Regions from separate parts of the Homo sapiens genome. Here region 1 is linked to region 2. Evidence: promoter capture Hi-C in human tissues and cell types (Jung and others, 2019). All regions are on one chromosome and are shown on one strand. Each heading gives the region's core, a stretch centred on a gene start or on the middle of the fragment in contact. The rest is flanking DNA. Distances are from core to core; before and after follow the strand shown.

The links. The method cuts DNA at HindIII sites, captures the fragments that hold promoters and counts their contacts. A contact is called where the count stands out against the background at its distance.
Region 1: a contact is called between the fragment with the promoter of CYYR1 here and a fragment that was not itself captured in region 2, in 5 of the 25 tissues and cell types used here (aorta, dorsolateral prefrontal cortex, hippocampus and 2 more).

Annotation. Positions count from the first base shown.
Region 1 is chr21:26,570,541-26,577,046 of GRCh38, forward strand. CYYR1 (cysteine and tyrosine rich 1) reads right to left here and starts at 2,746. Exons shown (of 4, transcript NM_001320768.2): 1 at 2,328-2,746. The coding sequence starts at 2,400. The HindIII fragment of the contact is 7,865 bases long and covers 711-6,506 here.
Region 2 is chr21:26,399,243-26,405,752 of GRCh38, forward strand. It overlaps a transcript of CYYR1-AS1 not described here. Among named protein-coding and RNA genes, the nearest start is that of CYYR1-AS1, 3.4 kb to the right of the region's middle. The HindIII fragment of the contact is 3,918 bases long and covers 1-3,336 here.

The sequences.
Region 1 (6,506 bases), core at 1,496-3,995, 170 kb after region 2:
GGGTCTCCTTCCAAAAGTAACTCTATAGTACAACATGATGCTTCAGGTATAGAAACCTTGCTCTTATTTGTTTAGCCAAATGAAATGTGAATCTAATGCATTTGCTTTGGGGAAAATAATTTAGATTATGAGCAGTGCATCTACTTAGATTTTTGTCCCACAAAGCTGGCAATTCATTTAATAGTATGAACTATTTTGACTTCTGTGGTGTTCCAGCATCTAACCTCAACCCTTACTTCTAGCCATACCTCTTAGTTCCAACCAAACTGAAATATCCTTTGTTGCATGTACAGATCTTGATTTTTGACTTTGATCACACGATATCCTACTATATCCCACTCCGTCTCGTTGGGTTCAGGGCGTCTATATTTTTCAAAGGTCTAGTTCCTTCAAGTCTTCTTCAATTCAGTTTTCCTGAGCAAATACTGATTGATCTTTTTGCTGAACAAAATAGACATTGTCCTCATGAAGCTTACTCTTTTAAGCCAGCAGTAAGACTTTCTTCTTTGAACATCTATAGCACGTGATTTTACCTCTCCTATGACACAACCTTTTATACCTTAAAGTAACTTATGATCATACCGTAGTTCCCAGAGAAGACTGATAAGAACATGACCTCTTACGGCTCAACATACCTCACTCAGTAAGTAATAGTTGAATGAATATGAAAAGCATAAAAAGGCCTCTGAATAACAAGTCCAGGAATTGACACCAAAGAGCTTATTAGCTAAACACTTCTTAGCAAAGATAGTAAGTCAACTTAGCACTGGCTTACAACTACTTTGTAGCTTATGATAGAGGGATTCCAAAGAAGAGAAATGAATGGACTGAAAACTTTCTAAACTAACCACCCTTGTTGCTGGCCAGCTTCGCTGATTTCCTGAGCCCTGAGGAGCTGGGCACCTAGCACTGGGGAAACAGGAGGAGGGGGCAGATGTGTAAAGCAGAAGCTTTCAGTTTACCACAGGGAATATAATAAACAAACAAACAAACAAACAAAATTGTGGTTCAATGGAGTGGTTGAATAAGTGTGAGTGAAAGTATTAAATATTGTCGAGCAGAGGAAGTGAAAAGCATAATTACTTCGAAAGAACTAATAAAGAGATTTTTTCAATAGAAAATGAATATTAATGCAGTTGACTCTGTTAATCCCTCAAATTCTGAAAACCTTATACAAATTTAATAAAAGAAATAAATGTTGTAAACAGATTAAATGTAATTCTCTTCATTAAATACGAAGAACTTATCCTACTTTTATGAATTTTCATATTAGAAGGTCAGCATTTTTCCTGCCATAAAACATCTTTAAAATGGTAACTCCTAGACAGCCACTAATTTGCATTTCAATAAACAGGCTAAAAATGTCTACAGAAGTTATGGTGACTCTTTTCTAGCAAGGTTGAATGAGAAATTCAATTCTTTTAATACTCAGGTGCAACACTGAAGAACATCATTTCAGTTGCAATATCTTTTTGAGTATCAAAGGTAAATTTCAGTGCTATATATACATTTCGTATTGGAGGCTCAGGGGTGAGCCTGCGATTTTTGTCATAGGACGTTAGAGACACAAAAACATTTTACAAAGAACTTTGCTTTTAGCTTGCATTGTTTTGTGAATATGAACTGATGCAAAGACCACGTGTGTAAGACACTTTATACCTGAATAACCAATGAAAGGCCATTTGGGGCTCCATATTAATCACAAACAAGAAAACCCACTTTGCTTCGTTAATTATTAGCAGTTCTTACTACGAATAATTAGAAGGGAAACCAGATGCCCTTCTCTTATAAACAAGTGTCTATCTAAATCAACGAACCTGTACAGATTAGACCCTGGGTGAATTCATGCTTCTCAAAAACCTTGTGTTTGACTTCAGTCCAATAGCTCAGTCTACCACACTTGTGAATCTCCCAAAGAACGAAAACAAAGCTCTAAGTTTTTTTTATTCACAAGAGGGAAAACCAGGACTATTTAGAAAGCAGAAGATGGAGAGGCCACTGCCTAGCCTATCCAGATAAGTTTATTTGGATATAGTTTACTCTATCCAGAGAGTCAAATCCCCTAAACACGAGACTGCTATTTCCAAGGTGGAAAGGGAAAGAAAAGAAATGCAAAAGGTAAAAGTTAAAGGAAAAGGAACAAAACAAAACCGCGTGCGGCTGGAAGTGCGCGGGTTTCTGCCGTCGCCTCGCGGAAAAGGCAGAAGCGTCTGCAAAGGTCCTTCTGCAAAGGTCCCGGTCCGTCCAGCTCAACCCACGTTAGCCCGGACCGTGACCCAAGGGCAGCCCCGAGCCTCTGACCCTCTCCGCCGCCCTCCGTCACTGACCTGCGTAGACAAAGAGCAGGACCAACTTCGGAAGCAAGACCCCTGGACGCACGGGTAGCCTCGGAGCGTCCATCCAAGCCGGTGGCCTGAGGCTTGGAGCGAAGGGAGAGCCCGGAACCGGAGGGAATGGGGAGGATGGAGGGCGATCAGATGGAGAGAGCAGCGCTCCTGAGAGCCGGGTGGAGCAGAGACCCGGCCATTGCCTAGGGAGCCTTCCAAGGGAGCCCGGGCCGGGCGCGTCCCGGGCCAGCGACTGCGGGACTCCGCGGAGCTGGGGCGCCCGTGGCCCGAGACGGGCTGCGCTGGGGGCCCAGGTCTCTTTGTCTCGCCCCACTGCGCTCAGGCGCGGGGAAGGCGGCCACTCCGGCGTCCTTGGCCACCCAGGCTCACATTTCATCTCCGCGGGTGGCAACGACTGCGGGCAGGGGGCGGGGGTGGCCCCGACTCCTCCCCAAGCCCGGGTTCTTCCTTCTAAAGAGTGACTAGGGGACCAAGAAACTTTTCCTAACCCCTTGCTTTGGCGATTGCTATGGAGTTCAGCCTGCTCCTTTTTAACCTTGCCTCCACTACAATTTTTCCTTTCTAAGCAATGGATGAACAACTTTGCTTTTTATCTTTAAACAAAGGGAAGGAATTTTCAGGGTTGAAGGTATTCGACAAAGAGTGACAGTGAAGAAAACTCAGGATTGGGAAGTACAGAAAGTGTATGGCATCTCTGCTGAAAGCTGATAAAATGTTTATTATTTTTTCCTGTAAATTCAGAAAAAAAAAACACAACAGTGCACACTGTCGTTATGATTTTGACGTTTTGGAGTTACTGGCCTATGCAATTAAACAAGAGAAAGAAAAAGATTTATGAAAAATGAAAGCTAAATTGTCATTAGCAAATGAAATACGTGTATACATGGAAAATCAAAGTTAATCAACTATAAAGCTCTTGTTTAGCAAACCAATAGTTTTCTTTCCTGCAAACAAAAATCAGAAAGTTCTCAATGTTATGCATGAAGGAAAAAAAATGATACGAATAAGTAAAGAGATACTTTTTTCACTAAGAAAATTTAGTAGGATAAAGACAACAAGATTCCCCAAATTATTATATACATTTGGAAATAAAATTGATCCCAATTTTTAAAATAACATGATTTTTTTCAAACCAATCTGATTCTAAAGTTTATATGGAAAATAAATATGTAAGAATATCTATTTAAAACAAGAGTAATGAATGGGAATAATGAATGGGATATTACATATAATATCACAATAATTAAAACAGTTTAGATTAACATTGGAATAGATAGGCTTAGTGAAAGAGAAAAGGTAACCCAAAAGTAGACATGAGTATGTACAGCAATTTAATTTATGGTTTAAAGAAATATCAATGTAAAGTAGTAGGGGAAATGATGAGTTACTCAGTGAAAAGTGTTGAGGCCGTAAATAGCCATCTGTGGAGCCTTATCTTTTTACATCAAAATCAGTTCTATATGAATTACATATTTAAGATACAACTATGAAAATATTAGATTAAAAAATAAGAGGATAACATTCAAATAATTGTGGAATAGGGAAGCCTTTTCTAAGCATTATAAAAAACTCAGAAACCATAAAACAAAATATTGACCAACTTGACTAAATAAGAATTAATACTTCCAGTTGGCAGACATTTAACTGGCAAAAATATTTGCAATGCAAAGTCCTAATCTCATTATTATACTGAGCTTAAAAAAATCAATAGGAAAAACAACCAAGAGATAACTGAGGAAGGATATTAATAGACACTTCATACAAAACAAATAAATATAAATATAGAAATAAAATTGACAGTGAGACATCACTTTTCATGTATCAAACCAACCAAATACAAAACCAAATGAACTCTTAAGGGAAACGGTGTGGTTATATGTACGAAAATTCAAATACACATGTACTTAATTTAGTCAGTTCTCTTCCAGGAATTTTTTCCTGTAAATGCAGTGCTGCAAGGGAATACGAGAGTGGGAGGAAACATCACCCCCAAAATAAACATAAGCTAAGCTCTTTACTGTGTTTTACACGTTGGTGAAGGCCCAACCATCCACCATGTTCTAAAGAAGGCTGATCAGTTCCACCTTTTTTCTCATCCTCGCTGGCCAATCTATCACCAAGTTCACCTAATCTGTCCACCTGAACACCACCCAAACGCATTTTAAATTATCATCTATTTCTGTCCTAATCTAGACTTTTATAGTCTTGATTATATTCAGCCTCCCTGCCTTCAGAGATGTTTGCCAGACTGAAGCTGGAATATTTCTTCTTAAACTACAGATTTCATCATGTTCACTCACTCAGTAGCATCCTGTTGCCCTTAGGTTAAAATTCAAACATTTAATCCAGGGTGTTCAAGAACTTGTTCACTAGGTCCTGTCATTCTTGTAGCCTGATCAAAACATTCCACTGGGAAGCACAATTTCTAAATAACTGGGACAATGGTTGGAACCTAGAGAAAATCCCAGGCATACAAGCCCTTTGAGTCTTGAAGGAAGAAGATACAGATGGAAGTCAGTGTTTGCAGAGCTGAAGAATGGTATCCAGCCTGCTTGGAATAGAAAAATGATTGTCTTTGCAGATGAGACTGAATACAGATCCTTGATGGGCTGGTAGCTGTGATAGAAGAAGGGGCTTCTCCCGCCCACTTTTTGACACAGATCAGGAAGAGGCTGGCTGTTGCCACTGAGGCCCATAGGAAGTTGCAGTGTTGGTCAGGATAGTCTCTTTCAGCTTACTTTTGAGAACAGAAAGACTTCTCATACAGTTCAACAGATTGGTCGAGCAAGCTTGCCTGCAAGTGTACCTTCCAGAGCTGCTACCTTGAAGTATGCTGATGCTCAGGAAACCAAACTCAATTGACATGGAAAGGCAAAGAAAGATGGCAAGCCATTTAAGAAATTGTGGTAGTTAAAAGAAAGGATTTGAAGGAAAAAAAGATGTATATACAAATATGTATGGAATGAGAAACCTTAAGAATACAACATCAGAGGAACTAAAAGAGTTCCTGGAAATTAAAATAAATGTGGTTTGAGGTTTTAAAATTTACAGAAAAAAATTATAAAATAGTCACATTAAAAAAAAAAAACTTAGATTGTTAGATCAGGCCAGGCGCGGTGGATCACGCCTGTAATCCCAGCACTTTGGGAGGCCGAGGTGGGTATCACTTGAGGCTAAGAGTTCAAGAGCAGCCTAGCCAACATGGTGAAACTTCATCTGTACTAAAAATACAAAAAATTAACTGGGCGTGGTGGTGTGCACCAGTAGTCTCAGCTCTCAGCTATTCGGGTAGCTGAGGCAGGAGAATCAGGAGGTAGAGGTTACAGTGAGGTAAGATCATGCCACTGCACTCCAGAGTGAGACTCTGTCTCAAAAAAAGAAAAAAAAAATTGTTAGATCAAATAAGGAGTATTTTTCATATAACAGAGGAAAAAAAACACAAAGAAATAGAAACCACGAATAAAAATATAAAAACCCAAAGAATGGGAATAATGTGCAGGCTAATAGTTTCCAGAGAAACACAAAGTGAAAAAGCAAACGTCAAAGAAATAATGTTTTAAAATTCTGAGCTGTAATAAAATTTGAATTTTCATATTTAAAATGGTGAGTTAGTTCCGAGAAATTTTTTTTGAAAAGAAGCACAAATATGTACATATCTTAGAGACCAGTTTCAACAAGTATAAATTTAAAATCATATACATTTTCATATATAATTTTTATGTTTCCTTGAAAAAGAGAATCTGACAGGCATCAGATTTCTCATTTGCAACCCTGGAATTGAAGAGGGTGAAACTATTTTTAACCCACTGAAAGATAAAGAATGCAATCCAAGAATCCTCTTCTAAATCAGATTTTATTAATATTTCTGATCCACTATGACATCTAGAACAATGTTTATTACAATTTTAAAAAATAGTTTACATGTACAACAGAGGTAAAACAGTTAAGTAAATTAGGGTATATCCACATTATGAACTCATATCTAATGTTTAAAATTGTTGAAAAGATCTTTAAGATATATAGTTAAATAAGAAATGGAATACAAAATGATCTCAACAGTGGAAAAATGCAGCTAATGTTTTCATCTTTTATTGAACTTTCTTTTTCCCCACTTTCTTCCTGGGTATCTCTTTTTTTTTAAAAAAAAAAGTACCTCTG
Region 2 (6,510 bases), core at 128-2,627:
TCAGCCTGATGCCATAGGGAACTCTGGAGTGTGAGCGGTGCAAAAAATTATCCTGCAAGGAGGCTGGCCACATAATCAGTCCTTAGCTGCAGCTATTCCAATGATGGTGGAAGCTTGGGCCTCAGCTATGTCCAGGAAAAGGGGCTTTCCTTGGCCAAGGCCAATTATGCAGAAGACAGTGTATCCATGAGCCACTGAAAACCCACACTTACGACAGCTTGGAGATGGGTGCACAGATGCACTAAAGGAGATCTGGGCAGGGCACAACATCTACTAGATATATATAAGTTTGTAGGCAGAATCCTCCTCACCCATGAATATCACCAGGTTTTAACTTCAGAGGCTGAATATGTCTGATCATATTGCAGAACACAGTAAATCACCTTGTCTCAGAGAAAATCCTATACAGCAATTAGGTAATTGGCATTGATAAGGTTGACCTGAAAGGAAATTGTGAAGTAGAAGTCTTGTAATACGACAGTCTTTTGAAGCCTCCCATTAAAAGCCCCCTACCACCTATCATATTTTTCCCCCTCCTCATGGCTTACTCTACCTCCTTTTTATGCCTTTCCACTCATCCAGAGGTTGTTTTGAGACCCAGTCCTACCTGGCTTTACTATCACAAGAGTACTGATTGATATGGTTTGGATTTGTGTCCCTGCCCAAATCTCATGCTGAATTGTAATCCCCAGTGTTGGAGGAGGGGCCTGGTGAGAGGTGATTGGATCATGGGGGTGGGCTTCTCCCTTGCTGCTCTCATGATAGTGAGTGAGTTATCATGAGATCTGGTTGTTTAAAAGTGTGTAGCACCTCCCCCCGCCCCTGCTTCCTCCTGCTCCAGCCGTGTAAGATGTGACTCCTTCCTCTTCACCTTCCACCATGATTGAAAGTTTCTTAAGGACTTCCCAGCTATATTTTCTATATAACCTGCAGAACTGTGAGCCAGTTAAACCTCTTTTGTTCATAAATTACCCGGTCTGGGGTAGTTCTTTACAGCAATGCAAGAAGGAACCAATACACTGATACTAAGATGTTAGCTGAGATGGTAACTGATAAGATTTAATCAGGAGGATGTTAAAATGTTTACGACATATATACTAACCAATCAGTAGTAGCCAATCAGACCATTCTATGGTTAGAGCTTCCTTACTGAGCCACGTATTAACCATTCGTTCATTGCCAAGTCATTAAGAGATAGAGTCACTGGAGGAGGTACTGAGACAGCCCAGGTAGAGTGGAAGGGCACTGGGTTTGGGGAGGCTCAGGGCATAAGCTGATTAACCTGCTGGAAAGTATTTCATTATGGCTATACCAGTACCTACTGACTAAATATCAGCCCAGAAGAGTTGCTTCCGATATAATACGTTTTTATTGTTATTGTTGTTGTTGCTTTAAGTAAATCCTAAATAACTGTGACTTTGAATCTTGGCAGTTCCTGGAATCACAGAAGTCAGAAACTCATAAGACCGGTCCCAGATACAATTATAATCATAGCTGTAACTTAACACTAAATCAAGATTATCACGAAGCTTTTGCATCTAGTTTAAAACAGTAAGTTAAATAGGAACATAGAAACATACTTATTGTTGGAGGTCATTATTTTTTAAAATTGTGTTTTTTCTTCAACCTTTAAGTTCCAGGGTACATGTGCAGGATGTGCAGGTTTGTTACATAGACGAATGTGTGCCATGGTGATTTGCTGTACAGATCAACCCATCACCTAGGTATTAAGCCCAGCATCAATTAGCTATTCTTGCTGATGCTCTCCCTTCCCCTGTTCCCCCTCACAGGTTGCAGTGTGTTTTGTTTCCCTCTATGTGTTCATGTGTTCTCATTGTTCAGCTCTCACTTATAAGTGAGAATATGCAGTGTTTGGTTTTCTTTTCCTGTGTTAGTTAGCTGAGGGTAATGGCTTCCAACTCCATCCATGTCTCTGCAAAGGACATGATCTCATTCTTTTTTATGGCTGCATAGTATTCCATGGTGTATGGGTACCATATTTTCTTTATCCAGTCTATTATTGAAGGGCATTTGGGTTGATTCCATGTCTTTGCTATTGTGAATAGTGCTGCAGTGAACATATGAGTGCATGTATCTTTATAATAGAATGACTTATATTCCTTTGGGTATATACCTGGGAAAGGGATTGCTGGGTCAAATGGTATTTTTGCCTCTAGGCCTTTGAGGAATTGCTATACTGTCTTCCACAATGGTTGAACTCATTTATATTGCCATCAACAATGTAAAGGCATTTCTTTTTCTCCACAACAACAGCAGCATCAGTTGTTTTTTTTGACATTTTAATAATTGCCATTCTGACTGGCATGAGATGGTATCTCATTGTGGTTTTGATTTACACTTCTCTAATGATCAGTAATGTTGAGCTTTTTAAAATATGTTTGTTGGCTGTATGAATGTCTTCTTTTGAGAAGTGTTGTGTTCATGTCCTTTGCCCACTTTTTAATGCGGTTGTTTTTTTTTTTTTTTGTAAATTTGTTTAAGTTCCTTGTAGACTCTGGATATTAGGCCTTTGTCAGATGGATAGATTGCAAAAGTTTTCTCCCATTCTGTAGGTTGTCTGTTGACTCTGATGATAGTTCCATTGGCTGTGCAGAAGCTCTTTAGTTTATATACTTGCATTTTGATAGAAAGGTAGATATAAGCTTTCTAACAAGCTGTAACCTTGAAGAAAATGGACAGTAGGCAATCTTAGCTGGTATGTAAGTAATCAATGCTTTTTCTGATCATAACTTTAATGCACAGTAATTTAATGGACAGTACTGCTAATTTATTTTTTTCCAGCATCATTTGTACAAAGTCTCCTAAAATCCATCACAGTTGAGAACAGTCTAGACAGTTATTATGACACAATCAAAAGGAAAGCTGGCAAATAAAAAAAGAAAAGTGAATAGAAGAGCTGATTAAAATAACAGTATAGTTTATAGGAGGCTTCTCTTAAATTTGTGTTTTGCAAATTTCAATTTTTGGAAGGCTCAAATCACATTAAAATATTTTACTACTACAAGTCAGCTTTCTTTTATAGGTCTAAAGAGGAAAGAGGGAGGGGTTGCATTTACTTCTCCATAGAAAGATTTCAGCAATCTAATTAAATAAATATTATAGCAGTGCATTTGAATAGTTTTCCCATCAGTGAGGAAAGAAAATGCTCTATTTCCCTGAAGTCAGACATTTATGTCACAGTTGAAGAAGGGCAAGTCAACCATCACAGAATGAATAGTTTTGTCAAGTCGATATCTGATTTGATGGAGTCGAGTTTTCTTAATGGGAACTAAAACTGTGAAATGCACATTAATCCACTCTCTGCACACCATCTTTCCCTTTAAGGTTCCAGAAGAATTCCTATTTCCGTTTTAAAGCCATCTGCTATTGCTTTTTGCCAGTGAGTATGTGGATAGATAATTTCTCAGGGTGCAATTAGAGGAACGTGAAGAAACTACTTCATGCCATAAAGGGAGCTGAAAAAGCTAAAGCATAAATGGCAACATCTGCATGAGGTATGGAGCCAGGGAGGAGACAGAAGCATGCAAATCAGTCGCGCACTCTCAACAGAATTCCAAGGTCCAAAAAACAATCTGGGAAGATGTTTACAGAACACAAACTCATCCACATCAAAGGAGTAGAAAAGATGAATAATTGGTCAGGTGCATTCCTGTGGCAAGGAAAGGCAAAAGCAACTCAATCAATTCTGAAAAACAAAACAAAACCAACCCAGGATAAATGAAAAGACTAGTTGAAACGTTCTCATCTTGGATTTGAAATGACTCAATTGGTTAACATGTAATTTCATTAAGTCCCAAATCAAGGAGATTGTCTTTTCGTCACTAGGATCATGGTTTTGTTCCTTTTAGTCTCCATGTCACGTACCCCTCTTGTAAGACCTTGGCAAGTGAGTGTTGCAGCAATTTTTTTCCGGAAGGTGGGCTCCACTCCTTCATATGGGAAAGTCACAAGTTTGGCTAGCGGTGATGAGATTTAATTTCACTAAAAGCTTATAGCTGAGGTTGTGTTCTCATATTCAATACAAAGGCTGTCTTCTAGACAATTAATGTAACTCTTACATCCTCTTTAATTTGGCTCTAAAATATCTCTTTCAATTACTATAATTCTCTGATAACTTCTAACTTCCGGATGGACTGCTTGAAGCATTTTTCCCTACTTCAGAATAATGTTGGGAAAGTTCCTCATTAAGTCTTCGTTTTAGTTGAAAATCCAGAATAATGCACCCTTGGTCTTATCTCACATATTTTTGTCATTCTGACCTCAGTGCACTGCAATCTTTGGACTTCAAGTCCCAAGCTAAGAATTAAGCCAGAGGCAGGAGCATCTGCTCATGTTATTTTTGAATCAATGGCAGCCTCTCCTCCTCCTCCTCCTCACACCTACCTACTTTTCCACCTCTTGAAAGGCCCAATTCAACACCCATTTCCCCCTTAAAGCCTTTCCTAATCACACTAGTATTTATTAGCTGCACTGAGCTGCTCACAGCTGCACTTGTGAGCCTTCTCACCTACTTCATGGCTGGAGTTCTCACTCTAGCCTGATCAGCAACACTGGGAAGGCTTGTAAACCACAGATGGCTGGGCATCATCCCCAGGGTTTCTGACTTAGTAGGTGAGGGACGAAGACCAAGAATCTGCATTTCTAAGAAGTCCACAGGTGATGCAGATGATGCTTGTCTGGGGCCATACTTTGACGATCTCTGCTGTAGTGAATGCTTGCTACATTCTTACTCGTCCATTAAGACTCCCCTCTGTATCATCTTTCCCTGTCAGAATTAGGCCTCTCTCAACCTATACCTCTTAACTCACAAATTATCCTACCTCGATGAAGGCAGGCTAGCAAGCTCAGACAGCTAATGCAGCCAGGAAGTTTGCAGATGTATGCATCTGGTGAGACATCAGACATCGAAAATGATCCATGATCTTCCCAATGGATCATAAACATGCTCACAGAGTAGACACCCTGTTGAGACAGGGCTACATGGTGACCAGGCTTGGGACAAGACAGAGATAAGGCCACACTGCTAACAGAAAAAAGGCTAAAGATCCCTCCTTCCGTTTGCTCCTTTGCCCGCGACAACTCAAACCTCAATTTCACCTTCCTGCCTCCCTCCTAGATAAAAATTAGTAAGCTAATCAGTCACAAAAAGAAACCCCACCTTTTGACGGCCTCCAATCCAGGCCTGTTTCCAGCTTTCTTAAACCCTCCTACACAGATGCATATCCTTGTAGGAAGCGCCTCCCGACTTCCTTGAGAGGACCTGTATTTCCTCTGCTGTGTGTTTCTCCTGGGCTGCAGCAGGTTCAAGAACATAAACTCTTTCGCCCCAAGCTCTGTTCCTGCTGCTCTCTGCTCACTGGGCTGTGCAGACAGACAGTAGGGATGATGTGCCCCTCCTGAAGGAATTCAAAGTAAACACAAATTTAACATTGTGCAGGACAGGCCACAGGGACTATGAGCATGTTGGGTAGGCAGAACATTACCAGCTTGCAGGCCTTGCTGAAAGGCTCAAGACCTCAAGGCCTTGCCGAAAGAACCCTATTCTAAAATCTCTGACTTCTCCAACTCTCATCAGTTTTTCTCTCTCTTCTCCGACACCCTGAGAGTTGGGTATGAAGAAAGCAGCAAACATGTGCATTGTTCCTTAAGATGTACAATGCATGTTTACAACCCTTGCCTCGTTTAATTTTCATATCTGTAAGCTAGGTATAGTAGATCCAGTTTAAAGATGAGGAAACTGATCCTCAGAGACATAGGTGTTAGAACAACCTCACATCAATAAAGTGACCAACTTCATACAGTAATTAAGTAAAGAAATCAGGGTCTGAACTGAGTTTCCTGTGCTCTTTTTGCTAGACCACGATACCTAAACCTCCTGGGAGCAGGCAACTGAGCAAAAAGATGCTCTCCTATGCTCTCGGGTGTTTTATTTTCCTTCCCATCTAGACAATACCATCCTCAGTTAGAGACCACGTTATGTATTTCTCTGGCATCCTGCCTAGCTGGATCTAGTGGAATGCTGAGCACATAGCAGGCCCTCAGCAAGGAGTCACTGACTGATTGAAACTCATAAACCTTTCTCACAAGGAGACAGAGGGGAGAGGCTGTTTTAAAACAGAGGAACTTTTCTATCTTTGTTCCAGCATTGCAATACTAGAGGCTGTTGTTACTTTAATTCTTCAGGGTGCTCGGTATTAAAGCATTTTTCACACTTAGAAATGTTTATTTTCCTGTTATGGTTTCTGCATTGAAAAAGGTTGGGAAGTTCAAACTTCAGTTCCACGTACGTTTTTCTGAAGTTTCATGAATATTTAGAAAATGCATGTAGAACATGTGGCAGACACTGTGCTGTGTGGTCCATATCCCCCCTTTAAGGAAAGACTTGTTGTCCCAGCTGTTGTGAGTGTTGTTGGCACCAGCCTTCAGCCATCAGCTTCTCAGGCACTGCCTGAGCTACAGTGAGCTGCCTTGCCCAAGGGTGCACCCATT